5 separate regions of the Homo sapiens genome follow, and all the other regions are linked to region 1. The links are contacts of gene promoters, found by promoter capture Hi-C in human tissues and cell types (Jung and others, 2019). All regions are on one chromosome and are shown on one strand. Each heading gives the region's core, a stretch centred on a gene start or on the middle of the fragment in contact. The rest is flanking DNA. Distances are from core to core; before and after follow the strand shown. Region 1 holds the start of CLPSL2 (colipase like 2). Region 2 has its middle 28 kb from the start of LINC03135. Region 3 overlaps FKBP5 (FKBP prolyl isomerase 5). Region 4 overlaps SRPK1 (SRSF protein kinase 1). Region 5 overlaps SLC26A8 (solute carrier family 26 member 8).

Evidence for each region. Contacts are between HindIII fragments. The study calls those that stand out against the background at their distance.
Region 2: a fragment that was not itself captured here is called in contact with the fragment with the promoter of CLPSL2 in region 1 in 1 of the 25 tissues and cell types used here (liver).
Region 3: a fragment that was not itself captured here is called in contact with the fragment with the promoter of CLPSL2 in region 1 in 1 of the 25 tissues and cell types used here (stomach).
Region 4: a fragment that was not itself captured here is called in contact with the fragment with the promoter of CLPSL2 in region 1 in 1 of the 25 tissues and cell types used here (pancreas).
Region 5: a fragment that was not itself captured here is called in contact with the fragment with the promoter of CLPSL2 in region 1 in 2 of the 25 tissues and cell types used here (aorta and stomach).

The regions. Positions count from the first base shown.
Region 1 is chr6:35,775,243-35,777,942 of GRCh38, forward strand. It overlaps CLPSL2 (colipase like 2), which reads left to right and starts at 1,356. Exons shown (of 3, transcript NM_207409.4): 1 at 1,356-1,460; 2 at 2,217-2,339. The coding sequence starts at 1,377. RefSeq lists a silencer at 1,337-1,466. The HindIII fragment of the contact is 15,017 bases long and covers 763-2,700 here.
Region 2 is chr6:35,569,807-35,572,506 of GRCh38, forward strand. No RefSeq gene overlaps it. Among named protein-coding and RNA genes, the nearest start is that of LINC03135, 28 kb to the left of the region's middle. The HindIII fragment of the contact is 3,769 bases long and covers 1-2,700 here.
Region 3 is chr6:35,611,802-35,614,530 of GRCh38, forward strand. All of the region lies in intron 5 of FKBP5 (FKBP prolyl isomerase 5), which reads right to left. Among named protein-coding and RNA genes, the nearest start is that of MIR5690, 52 kb to the right of the region's middle. The HindIII fragment of the contact is 7,513 bases long and covers 1-2,729 here.
Region 4 is chr6:35,915,077-35,917,808 of GRCh38, forward strand. The region is part of intron 2 of SRPK1 (SRSF protein kinase 1); the gene reads right to left. Among named protein-coding and RNA genes, the nearest start is that of SRPK1, 4.7 kb to the right of the region's middle. The HindIII fragment of the contact is 5,314 bases long and covers 1-2,732 here.
Region 5 is chr6:36,003,756-36,006,455 of GRCh38, forward strand. All of the region lies in intron 3 of SLC26A8 (solute carrier family 26 member 8), which reads right to left. The region is part of intron 2 of LOC105375034 (a long non-coding RNA gene); the gene reads left to right. Among named protein-coding and RNA genes, the nearest start is that of SLC26A8, 20 kb to the right of the region's middle. The HindIII fragment of the contact is 5,572 bases long and covers 1-2,700 here.

The DNA.
Region 1 (2,700 bases), core at 106-2,605:
GTTACAGCCAGTGTTAATTACTCTGTGACAGCTAGTGTTAATACAGGGAGGGCTCACGGAAATAATGGATACAAGGCCCTCTGAGTGCGGTGGGGGCTGTTATTCTTGGCTGTTATTCCCCACCAAGACAGGATTCCTCGGTTCATTTCTTAAGCGAAACTTCAAAAGCAGAAGCAGGCTGGGAGTGGTGGCTCACGTCTGTAATCCCACCACTTTGGGAGGCCGAGGCAGGAGAATCTCTTGAGCCCATGAGTTCAAGACCAGCCTGGACAACATAAGGACAACCTGTCTCTATAACAAATATTAACAATACAAAATTAAAAAAAAATAGAAATTAAAAAAAAGCAGAAGCAGGCAGGTGGGGTGAGGTGGAAGCTTCATCCATAGGGAAGTCCTGAGGAAGGCCTGCCTCCCCCGGTTCCAGGATTGCTCTGTGCAGCTCTAGCTCTCCCTTAACCCTCCTCCCTATTCTGAGTTTTCTTCTCTTCCCACTTCTCCATTTTGCCCCCACATCTTGACTTTCACACAATTCACAGACAAATCCTTAGACAATTAATAGAATGATTAAGACTGCAAGAGATTTAAGACTTAGAGACCATCTTGTCCCACCTCCTGGTTCTTACAGAAGAGGAGAATGGGGCCTGCAGCGGGTGTGAGCAGCCCAGAGGGTGGGGCTGGATTATCCCGAAGGTAAGGGGAGAATCTGGGGCTGCAAGGGCAGACAGAGAATCAACATCAGGAAGGAAGCTCTTTTTATTTCAGCATATATGTTTTGTGCCGTTTATAAAAATAAAGTTTTGAGGCCAGGTGCGGTGGCTCACACCTGTAATCCCAGCACTTTGGGAGGCTGAAGCAGGACCATCACTTGAGGCCAGGAGTTAGAGACCAGCCTGGGCGACATGGGGAGACCCCCGTCTCTACAGAAATTTTTAAAATTATCCCGGCGTGGTGGCGCACACCTGTAGTCCCAGCTACTCGGGAGGCTGAGGCAGGAGGATCACTTGAACCTGGGAGGCGGAGATGGCAGTGAGCCGAGATCACGCCACTGCACTGGGCGACAGTGCGAGACTCCGTCTGTAAAATAAATAAATACAATAAAATAGAGTTTTATCTTACAATAAAAATAGAGTTTTATCTTACAGTTTCAAGCTTCTACTTGGAAGTAACACGTATGGAGGCTCCCAGGGCCCCTACAGTCTGGAATCCCGCCCGTGCGAGCCTGAGCGCCTTTCCTCCCTCCTTCCCTTCCGCAGGCGTCCTCGCCCTCCACGTCCCTCCTCCGCCGGGGTGGCCTGGGGCGCCGGGTCACGTGGCCGGGGAAGAGGTTTTATCCCGCGGCCCCTCGGAACCCCGCCGCTGCTCTGCCGCCCAGGCCCATGGCCGCAGCCCTGGCGCTCGTGGCGGGGGTCCTGTCGGGGGCGGTGCTGCCCCTCTGGAGCGCGCTTCCGCAATATAAAAAGGTGAGCCGGGGAGCGCGCCCAGCCGGCCGCGACCGCAGGAGAGGGTGGCCCCGCCGCCGGGGCACTGGAGCCCGAAGGCGCCGGGCAGCCTGAAAGGGAGAGGTGGGTCCGGAACCACACCCAGGCGGGTAGCCTGGGGCATCCTCAGACGGACTTCAAAAGCCGCTTCACTTTCCCCTGGTGGCCTCAGAGGGGAGAGAAATTGGCCTATGACCAGCACCCTCGCTCCCTCCACCTCCCCCGCCCGTGCCCCTTCCGATGGCCTCAGTCCTGGGCTCGCTTCCCTCCCCAAACTGCTCACAGGCAAACCCACCCTGCATGCTCTGGTTTCTCCTCCTCTTCTTCCACCTCCTCTCACTGTCTAGTGATTCTTCCAGGCACGAGGGCTCTCCCCTTTTCTCCTCTTTCTCTCCCTCTTTTTCGAGCCCGCAGCCCCTTCATTCTCATCCCCCAACCCTGCCCCGCAAAATGGGACTTAAGAGTACACACCCCATGGGACTCATGGAGGTGAGGGGGGTCCAGGAAAGGAGAGGCCGAGGGAAAAGTGCTAATCCCCCTCTCCTCCTCTCTGCTGCCCTGGGTCCTGCTGAGGGGCCGGGGTGGGGCTGGGGGGGGAACCAGCCCCCCAAGGGGTGACAACCTCATGACTTCTCCTGGATCCCTGGGCTCTTTGGCAATGGTGGGAACCCTCCCCTACCCGCCCACACGACTCAGGGATTGCTCCCAGCCTGGCAGACATTCTGCCTGTCCCCACAGAAAATCACAGACAGGTGCTTCCACCACTCTGAGTGCTACAGTGGCTGCTGCCTCATGGACTTGGACTCCGGTGGAGCCTTCTGTGCCCCCAGGGCCAGAATAACCATGATCTGCTTGCCCCAGGTGAGGCCCTAGTATGGGGCAACTTCTGGCAAGTAGAGAAGCGGGCAGGGAGGTTAAAAAAAAAACACCTGGCCCCACCTGTTTTTTCACCTCTGTCTGGAGTGCCCTTCTTCTTCTCCACTTGGCAAACTCCTACTCATGGTGCAAAACAACTCCAGCCACCTCCTCTGAGAAGGCTTCCCTCCTTGGAGCTCCTGTACCCTGGGGTCAGACCCTCAGCAGACCATGTATCTCCCTAACTGGCCATGTCTTTTCTCTGCCTCTCCCAGTGGTTGGAACTCTTCAAGGGCAGGGATCGCATCATATTCATCTATGAAGCACCTACCCCCAGCTTAGTATCTGCACATAGTAGGTGCTCAAT
Region 2 (2,700 bases), core at 68-2,567, 210 kb before region 1:
CCGAGTATCTACTATGTTCTAGTTTGGGGATGATGGACTGGGTGCTGAGGATGGTGATGAGTAAGGCAGTGTTCCTGATCCCTCAGTGGGAGAAGGGGAATCACATTTTGTTAACTACAGGTAAAGGCTGGTGTCATGTTAGGAAGACTCTGGTAGCCACAGAGGGCAATAGGATACACATGGGTTTAAGTTTTTTATTTTTATTTTTTGAGACAGAGTCTCGCTCTGTCGCCCAGGCTGGAGTGCAGTGGCGCGATCTCAGCTCACTGCAAGCTCCGCCTCCTGGGTTCGCGTCATTCTCTTGCCTCAGCCTCCTGAGTAGCTGGGATTATGGGCGCCCACCACCAAGCCTGGCGAATTTTTCATATTTTCAGTAGAGACGGGGTTTCACCATGTTAGTCAGGATGGTCTTGATCTCCTGACCTCGTGATCCGCCCTCCTCGGCCTCCCAAAGTGCTGGGATTACAGGTGTGAGCCAGGACACCCAGCGGGTTTAAGTTTTTAAGACAAAAAAATTCAGGAGTCCTTAGTGTGGAAACACGGTTGTGAGCAGATACAATACAAACTCATCAAGTCATTCACTAGAACTAGAGTAACTAGAATTAGTCATTGCATCCCCAAATACTCATCAACTGTTTATTCTTACCACTTATTTCCCTAGTCAGAAGCTTTAAGGAGATAACTTTAAGCCAAGAACAATGCCTACAATAAGGAGTTATCTTATGAAAACACATTATCCCAGAGCAGACCCAGGCTGGAAATATTTAATACCTCAAGAAAGGCTTAGATACAGACCGGACCCGGTGGCTCACGCCTGTAATCCCAGCATTTTGGGAGGCTGACGCAAGTTGATCACCTGAGGTCAGGAGCTCGAGACCAGCCTGGCCAACATGGTGAAACCCCATCTCTACTAAAAATACAAAAAATTAGCTGGGTGTGGTGGCAGACACCTGTAATCCCAGCTACTCAGGAGGCTGAGGCAGGAGAATCACTTGAATACTGGAGGCAGAGGTTGCAGTGAGCCGAGATTGTGCCACTGCACTCCAGCCTGGGCAACAAGAACAAAACTCCCTCTCAAAAACAAAAACAAAAAAGAAAGCCTTAGCCACATGTTGTATTTGCAATGTGTCAACTAAGCCAAGTTGGAAACACATGTCCCAGAATTCCTTCCCTGCTTAGTTCTGGGTTAGCAAGGACCAATGACCTTGTGGAGATTTGAGAGGTGGAAACAATGTAGCAGCCACATTTTTTTTTCTAATTTTAGAGACAAGGTCTCACTCTGTTGCCCAGGCTGGAGTGCAGTGGCGTGATCATAGCTCACTGAAGCCTACGACTCATGGCTTCAAGTATCCTCTCACCTCAGCCTCTCAAGTAGCTGGGACTATAGGCATGCACCACCATGTGTAGCTAATTAATTTGTGTGTGTGTGTGTGGTAGTGATGGGGTCTCACTATGTTGCCCAGGCTGGTCTTGAACTCCTGGCCTCAAGCAATCCTCCTGCCTCAGCCTCTCAAAGTGCTGGGATTACAGGTGTGAGCCACCATCCCTGGCCCCTAAAGTGTATTTTAAAAAGATGCCTCTGCTTAACACGTTGGCAAGCTTCCCACCATAGATTTATTCCAAAGTAGACTATGAGGCCCATGGCTCTGCTGCCATTTCAGTTCCACCGAATGTGGGAATTCTAAGGAAGTACCAACATCTCCTTCCATACACCAAGAGCATCACTCATCATACTAGAAAAAGACCTATTTTAAAATGGTGCAAGGGCATCAGGTGACCTGACGGCCATGGGCAGGCTGCATCACCATTCTGGGTCCTCCCCATATTCTTGATTCTCCAAGGTTCCCTCATCTTTAGAAGACAAAGAATCCCTGCCTTATAAACTGTGCTTTAATTTTTCTAACTATAGGCTGCAGTTACCCAAACAAGATGCTGTCAAAAATCTTAAGAGTTGTATTTAACGCTGTCTCTTTCTTGCCGTGTATTATTAAGGTCACACGTGGAGATTCTGGGCAATTACAGATAGTGCCTTCTCCTCCCACAGAAATCTCCATGTCAGACATGTAGTAGAGAAAAATCTGAAGGGAAGTACTGAAGGTCTACCAAAACTTTTCAAGCCATCAGAGAATGTCCTTTTATGTACTTTCGTCAGTCACTGTCATTCAGATGCATAAGTAGCCAGCTGATGGAAAAAATACACAGCTGGGTTGGGGAATTCTGAGTTTCAGGATTTTGACTAACTGGCTCAAATTCAATGCGTTTTGTCACCAATACTGGAGATAGTCTCCAGCCCCAGAGAATACAGGCTTCACATGTACCATACTAAAAGTGGAGTTCAGTGTGCTGCTAAGGCCAAGTAAGTATAGACAAAGCCCTTCACTGGCAGTCCTCGTTTTGGAGGTTGTGCAAGCTGCCTCTGAATTTCTGAGATCACACATTTACAGCCAGGAATCTTCTCTGGCTCATCCTCAAGATCCCTAGGGTGATCATTATTTTCTTACAAAAAAAAAGCACGCAAATAAAGGGAATTTATTATGGTTGAGATAGGGTCTTGCTCTGTCACCCAGGCTGGAGTGCAGTGGCATGATCATGGCTCACTGCAGCCTCAACCTCCCAGGGCTCAAGTGATCCTCCCACCTCAGCCTGTAACTGGGCCTAAAGGTGCATACCATCATGTCTGTCTAATTTTTGTACTTTTTG
Region 3 (2,729 bases), core at 123-2,622, 160 kb before region 1:
TAAAAATCAAAATTTCCTTGAGAAAGAATAAATCCCATCAAACTAACCTAAGTTTTCTCTTCCACACAGAGACAAATTATGAAAAGGAAGTAAAAGTTTACAATTCAGTAAAAACCTTTTTGAGTCCATAATGTTATTCTTTCCCCGGAACCTTGAGAAATGTGATTTAGATAAGATTACTATTAAGATATATCATTAATTTGAAGACTGTTATTAGAGACAATTTTAGGTCTCTAATAACCATGGTAGGTAGAGCCAAGAGGATTTGCTGATGGATGACATGTAGGAGATAAGAAAAAGAGGAGTCAGCCAGGCACAGTGGCTCACGCCTGTAATCCCAGCACTTAGGGAGGCCAAGGTAGGTGGATCACCTGAGGTCAGGAGTTCAAGACCAGTCTGGCTAACATGACGAAACCCCGTCTTTGCTAAAAATACAAAAATTAGCTGGGTGTGGTGGCACGTGCCTGTAGTCCTAGCTACTTGGGAGGATGAGGTGGGAGAATCACCTGAACCCGGAAGGCAGCAGTTGCAGTGAGCTAAGATGCGCCATTGCACTCCAGCCTGGCCCACTGCACTCCAGCTTGGGCAACAGAAAAAGAAAAAGAGGAGTCAAGGATCTTTTTCCTTAGATCAATTAAAAGGAAGCAAAACAAATTAGTGAAACACAATATATAGGGTAGAAGAAATTAAGTGTCCACTAAATGTCTGACACTCTTCTTTGTAACTGTTTGTATTAGTCCATTCTCACGCTGCCATGAAGAACTGCCTGAGACTGGGTAATTTATAAAGAAAAGAGGTTTAATTGACTTACAGTTTCACATGGCTGGGGAAGCCTCAGGAAACTTACAATCATGGCAGAAGGGGAAGCAAACACACCCTTCTTCACATGGCGGCAGAAGAGGGAAGAGCCAGCAGGGTTTCCCTGCCAGACCCTTATAAAACCATCAGATCTCGTGACAACTCACTCTATCATGAGAACAGCATGGGAGAAAATGCCCCCCCGATTCAGTTACCTCCCAGTGGGTCCTTCCCACGACACGTGGGGATTGTGGGAACTACAATTCAAGACGAGATTTGGGTAGGCACACAGCCAAACCGTTATCACTGTCACACAACCTGTGGGAGTGAAAACTATTCCCATTTGACAGATTAAAAAAACTGAATGCTCCACGTAGTTAAGTAACTTGTCTAAAGTCATAAAAGTATCAGGTAGCAATTCCAAGATTCAAAAATCAAGTCCATCACTTACAAAGTCTATCTGTCCCCTCCTCCATACCACTTCATTGTCTCTTTACACAGAAATGACAGAAATTTAGTAAATCACGTATCTATAACAACATATTGTAATGGGTGATCAGTGTCTATTGTTCTTGTTCACTCTATAGCCGGCTTTAGTTCCAGGTTTTATTTATTTTATTTATTTATTTTTTTGAGACGGAGTTTCCCTCTGTCACCCAGGCTGGAGTGTAGTGGCGTAATCTCTGCTCACTGCAACCTCCACCTCCCAGGATCAAGCAATTCTCCTGCCTCACCCTCCCAAGTAGCTGGGATTACAGGTGCCCACAACCACTCCCAGCTAATTGTTTGTATTTTTAGTAGAGATGGGGTTTTGCCATGTTGGCCAGACTGGTCTCAAATTCCTGACCTCACGTGATCTGCCCACCTCGGCCTCCCAAAGTGCTGGGATTACAGGCGTGAGCCACCGCACCTGGCCTAGTTCCAGGTTTTATATCTGGTTTCACATCTAAGTGTATTTGGTGATGCTATAAAGAAAAGGCAAACCAGTAAAGACTGAGAAGATTTCAAAAAGAACAAGGTGATCTTGGTTTTGAACAGGACCACCTTTAGGGTAATCTTTTTTCTCCTCCCCCAGATAGCTAACTTGTTTAAAGGAGGAAAAACCAGGACATTTTAACCTTGATAAATGAAAGTATAACACAATAAATTTCTATGAAATAGATTTGTTCCAGAAAACCAAGACGGTCTTTTGAGTGAAAAAGTAAAATCAACCATTTAATCTAAAATTTCCCAGGAAAGTACATTCTAACAAGATGAAAGACAAAAGATTAGTCATTGCCCTTTCTTTTGTTCTTTCTCTCTTTTTTTCAAACTGAGACAGAGCCTTGTTCTGTTGCCCAGGCTGGAGTACAGTGGCATGATCACAACTCTCTGCAGCCTTGAACTCCTGGGCTCAAGAGATCCTCCTACCTCAGTCTTCTGGGTAGCTGGGACTAGAGGCATGTGCCATCACATGTGGCTAAATGTTAAACTTTTTGCAGAGACAAGGTCTCTATGTTGCTCAGGATGGTCTCAAATTCCTGAGGTCAAGCCATCCTCCTGCCTCAGCCTCCCAAAGTGCTGGGATTACAGGTGTGAGCCACCACGACTGGCTCCCTTTGTTAACAGAAACAGAAAAAAATAAAATGACATAAAACGTAATAAAATACAGGAAGAAAAACCAGGATCTAATGATATAACTAATGAGACTGGAATAGGGTGGAAATAATGGGGAAGTGGGAACAGGTTAATAAGGATGAGGGGGAAATGACACTTTTGAGTATATCGTTTTTTATATAGTTTAAAATCATGGTAATGTTTCACATATCCAAAATAAAACGAATAATTAAAATTAACCAGAGCATGGCAGGAACCCAAAATGGAATATACAGGGTAACAAATGAATAATTTGTTACAATTGAGTAACATAATCACATTGAAGGGGGTGAGGA
Region 4 (2,732 bases), core at 228-2,727, 140 kb after region 1:
TGAGCCACTGTGCCCGGCCAAACCTGTTAAATCTTGCTGGAGGAAGGCCGGGTATGGCGGCTTACATCTGTAATCCTGGCACTTTGGGAGGCTGAGGCGGGCAGAACGCGACGTCAGGAGATCGAGACCATCTCGGCTAACACAGTTAAACCTCGTCTCTACTAAAAATGCAAAAACAAAATTAGCCAGGCATGGTGGCGGGCGCCTGTAGTCCCGGCTACTCGGGAGGCTGAGGCAGGAGAATGGCATGAACCCGGGAGGGGGAGCTTGCAGTGAGCCGAGATCACGCCACTGCACTCCAGCCTGGACGACAGAGCAAGACACCGTCTCAAAAAAAAAAAAAAAAAAGAAAAATCTTGCTGGACAAAATTTTGACAAAATGAACTAAAAATATTTTAAATGTATATACCATTCGAAGTATTTATCCTAAGGAAATAATCACTGATGTAAGCAATGATTTGTCCAAAAGATTATTCACTATAGCTGTGAATTAATTGTGAAAAACTGGAAACAGCCCATAGTGGAATATTTAATACACGAAAAATACTCATGATAATGTTAACTAGGGAAAAGTATGCCCAGTGATTCCATTTTTGTCTTTAAAGGTATATACAGGCCAGGTGCGGTGGCTCACGCCTGTAAGCCTAGCACTTTGGGAGGCCGAGGTGGGCGGATCATGAGGTCAGGAGATGGAGACCATTCTGGCTAACACGGTGAAATCCCGTCTCTACTAAAAATACAAAAAATTAGTGGGGCGTGGTGGCACACACCTGTAGTCCCAGCTACTCTGGAGGCTGAGGCAGGAGAATCACTTGAACCCAGGAGGCGGAGGTTGCAGAGAGCCGAGATTGCACCACTGAACTCCAGCCTGGGCGACAGAACGAGACTCTGTCTCAAAAACAAAAAAAAAAAAAAATATATACACACACACACACACACACACACACACACACACACACACACACACGTTTATTAATAAAAATTAAAATAAATTATGGTTGGCTGGACACAGTGGTATGTGCCTGTAATCCCAGCTACTCGAGAAACTGAGACAGGAGAATCGCTTGAACCCAGGAGGCTGAGGTTGCAGTGAGCTGAGATCTCACCACTGCACTCCAGACTGGATGACAAGAGCGAAGACTCTGCCTCAAATAAATAAATAAATAAATTAATTAATTAATTAATTAAATTATGGCATATCAACTTAATGGAATGCTAGATGAGGTTCTCTTTCTGTCCTGACATGGAACTATTTCTAAGACTCAGTGAAAAAGGCAGACCCTAAAAAAAATAGTAAGGCTGCACTATATGGAATATAGAACCAATTTCCAAGGTGCACTGCTAAGTGTAAAAAGCATCAAATACTATTTCATTTTTTAAATTGTTTCAAATTTACTGGCTCTACTTCCTACTGAATAAAAATGTTAGATATTTAAGTATTTTCTCTTGTAAATTTTTTTTTTAATTTGTGGCCAAATTCAAGTAAATTTTCAATATATCTCCCAAATGACTCCACAAATCAGTGTTAGAGCTGAATTAATTTTACTACCAAATGTATACTAAATCCATAATTATTTAACTGCAAATAAAGTGAAAATTACTGTCCAAACCAGCTTCCTAAGGTAAGTAATAAAATCAGTAAGTATGAAATCCATTCTGGAATTATGTTCCATAGAAACAACTTCAAAAACAGACATATAGGTCAGGCACGGTAGCTCACACCTGTAATACCAGCACTATGAGAGGCCAAGGCAGGTGGATCACTCGAGGTCGAGTTTGAGACCAGCCTGGCCAACATGGTGAAACCCTGTCTCTACCCCGAAAAATACAAAAATTAGCCGGGCGTGGTGGCAGGTGCTTGTAATCTCAGCTACTTGGGAGGCTGAGGCAGGAGAATGGCTTGAGCCCGGGAGGCAGAGGTTGCAGTGAGCTGAGAATGCGCCACTGCACTCCAGCCCGGGTGACAGAGTGAGACTCTGTCTCAAAAAACAAAACAAAACAAAACAAAAACAGACACACACTGTTAAATTATAAAAGCTTATGACAAACAAATAAAGGCTCACAGCTATTGGTATAAACACTGAAAACAAATGTTCAGAGGGAGATAGATGATTGTGCTGTTTCATAGACACAGGACAGTATGTCATGAAAGGGCACCCAAACCCCCAAGCATCCAGAGGTCTCTCATTCAGAAGCCTCTTTCAACTCAGCTTCTACCTTACCTGTTGTAAGACACACCAAAAGCACTGTCACTTAGAAACACATGATTGGTAGCCAGGGCTTTGGGTATGTCAGACCTGGGTTCAAATCCCAGCTTTGCAATTTTCTAGGGGAGTAATCTGACAAACCTCAATTCTCTTATCTGTAAAGTAAAATGGAGATCATCACCAACTAGTTAATGTTAGTAAATAAAAGCACAGCGTCCACAAAAGTAAAATGAAGAATTGTCTAAATAAGAAAATTTAAAATCCCAAAGTCAAATACTCCAGCACAGTGAAAAGAACCCAAAGGAAATCCACTCTAACAAACACAGAGCTGGAAAGGGACCCTGAATTCCAAGTTTTGGTTCTTCTGTCACCAGCTTCAAGACCCTGGGTTTAAGATCTGCAGTACCAGGGGACTGAAAATCCCTTCTGCCTGTGACACAACACGACTAAATTACTAAGGATGCTATTTACTGTAACAGTTCCAAAACTTTCTAAAATTTTCATTTAAACGCTTTGTTTTTATAT
Region 5 (2,700 bases), core at 11-2,510, 230 kb after region 1:
GGTTCACGCCATTCTCCTGCCTCAGCCTCCTGAGTAGCTGGGATTACAGGTGCCTGCCACCACGCCCAGCTAATTTTTTGTATTTTTAGTAGAGATGGGGTTTCACCATGTTAGCCAGGATGGTCTCGATCTCCTGACCTCATGATCTGCCTGCCTCGGCCTCCCAAAGTGCTGGGGTTACAGGCGTGAGCCACCATGCCCGGCCTATTTCTTTGCTTTTCTTTACCAGTAGTGTACGTATCCCTACACAATACAGTTTAATTTGCTCCCATTTTGAACTTTATATTAAGAGTTATACTGAACACAATTTTATTTCTGCTTTTTTTTTTTTTTTTTTTGAGACAGAGTCTCGCTCTGTTGCCCAGGCTAGAGTGCAGTGGTGTAATCACAGCTCGCTACAGCTTCAACCTCCCAGGCTCAGGGAATCGTCCCACTTCAGTCTCTCAAGTAGCTGGACTACAGGTATGCACCACCATGCCCATCTAGATTTTTTGTAGTTTTCATAGAGACAGGGTGTCACTGTGTTGCCAGGCTGGTCTTGAGCTCCTGGGCTCAAGCAGTCCACCCGCCACAACCTCCCAAAGTGCTAGGATTATAGGCATGAGCCATTGCACCTAAGCATAACTGATTGTTATATGCTGATTTAGTATCCAGCAACATTCATAAAATCTTACTATTTTCTTTGTTTTTCTTTTTTTATGCCTTTTTAAAATTTTTTTTGCTTTTAAAAAAGTCATATCAATTTTCTTTATATTCTTTTGAATTCTTTGCATAAAAATCATCTGTGAATAATGAAGCTTTATTCATTTATAATTCTTATACTTTGTACTTCTTTTTCTTGCTTTAATATACTGTGTATGCACTCCATTATAATGTTGTAATGTTGAATAGCCCCTATTTACTTTTTTTCTTTTTTTTGTGTGTGACTGTCTTGCTCTGTCACCCAGGCTGGAGTGCGATCTTGGCTCACTGCAGCCTCAACCTCCCAGGCTCAAGTGATCCTTCCACCTCAGCCTCCCAAAGTAGCTGGGACTACAGGCGCTTGCACCACCACACCTAGTTAAATTTTTTTTTTTTTTTTTTTTTTTTAGTAGAGACAAGGGTTTCACCATGTTGCCCAGTCTGGTCTTGAACTCCTGAGCTCAAGCGATCTGCCTGCCTTGGCCTCCCAAAGTGCTGGGATTACAGGCATGAGTCACCACACCTGGCCCCCATTTACTCTTGAAAAGCAGCGTGTAGCATGAAGAAAAAATCTTTTGTTAGTTTTAAATAACTAACCAATGCTGGGAAGGTAAGAGAATTACTGGGTTAACAATCTGAGAATTAAGTTATCTAGTCTCATTTAAGTTTAGGCCATAGTGAAATAGAGGGAATTAAAATTTCCAAACTTTCCAACACCTTAAAATTTTCAAAAATTTTAAACTAATTTTAGAATTACAGAAAAGTTACAAAAATAATGCAGTTTCCATATATCCCTTCCACAGCTTCTCCTAATGTTAATATTTTATATAGTCATAGTATATTGATCAGAGCTAGGAAATTAACATTAGAAATTAAAAACTTTATTTGAATCTCATCAGTTTTTTTACTAATGTCTTTCATTTTGTTCTAGGATTCTATCCAGAGTCTCACATTTCATTTAGTTGTTATTTCCCCTTATTCCTGCAATCTATAACAGTTCCTTAATTTTTACCTGTCTTTCATGACTTTGACAAATTAAGAGTATTAATAGATCAGTTATTTTGTCAAACACTCCTCAATTTCGGTTTGTCTTATATTTCCTTATGATTGTACTAAGGTTATACACTTTTGGCAAGAATACTACAGAAATGATGTTGTATCTTTCTCATTGTATCATATCACAGGATTCATGATATCCATATATTTTACTACTGGTGATGCTCACATTAATCACTTAGTTAAGCTATTTTCTCCTAGGTTTTCTATTGTAAAGTGGTGGGGTAGTTAATAAATATCTCGAGGGAGATACTTTGAAAATATGCAAATCCTGTTTCTTAGTTTGCAAATTTTCACCCACTGGTTTTAGCATCCACTGGGTAGATTTTATGTACAATTATTACTGTAGTGTTTTCATGAAGGTGATTTTGTATTTTCTTCTTTAATTCTACATTTATAAATTGGAATTCTACTGTAAGGAAGATCCAGCACCTTTTTAATAAGGTCTTCATCATATAGTATTTTTGTTTCATTTGAATAAAATTATTGTCATCAGGTATTCAAATGTAAGTACAATTTTTGAATTATTCACACTACAAATTATCTTATTATTCACATCAATTAAACTAATGTTCAATCCCTTAATCAAGTATTAAGAGCTGGTTGGATTCATTCATTCATATAGCTATGAAATCTTTTTTTTTTCCAATGGAGTCTCGCTCTGTTACCCAGGCTGGAATGCAGTGGTGTGATCTCAGTTTACTGCAGCCTCTGCCTTCCAGGTTTAAGCAATTCTCCTGCCTTAGCCTCCCGAGTAGCTGGGATTACAGGCACATACCACTACACCTGGCTAATTTTTGTATTTTTAGTAGAGACAGGGTTTTGCCATATTGGCTAGGCTGGTCTCGACCTCCTGACCTCAAGTGATTCACCTCCCTCAGCCTCCCAAAGTGTTGGGATTACAGGTGTGAGCTACCATAACCAGTTATGCAATCATTTTTATTCAACAAACATCTTTTGAGT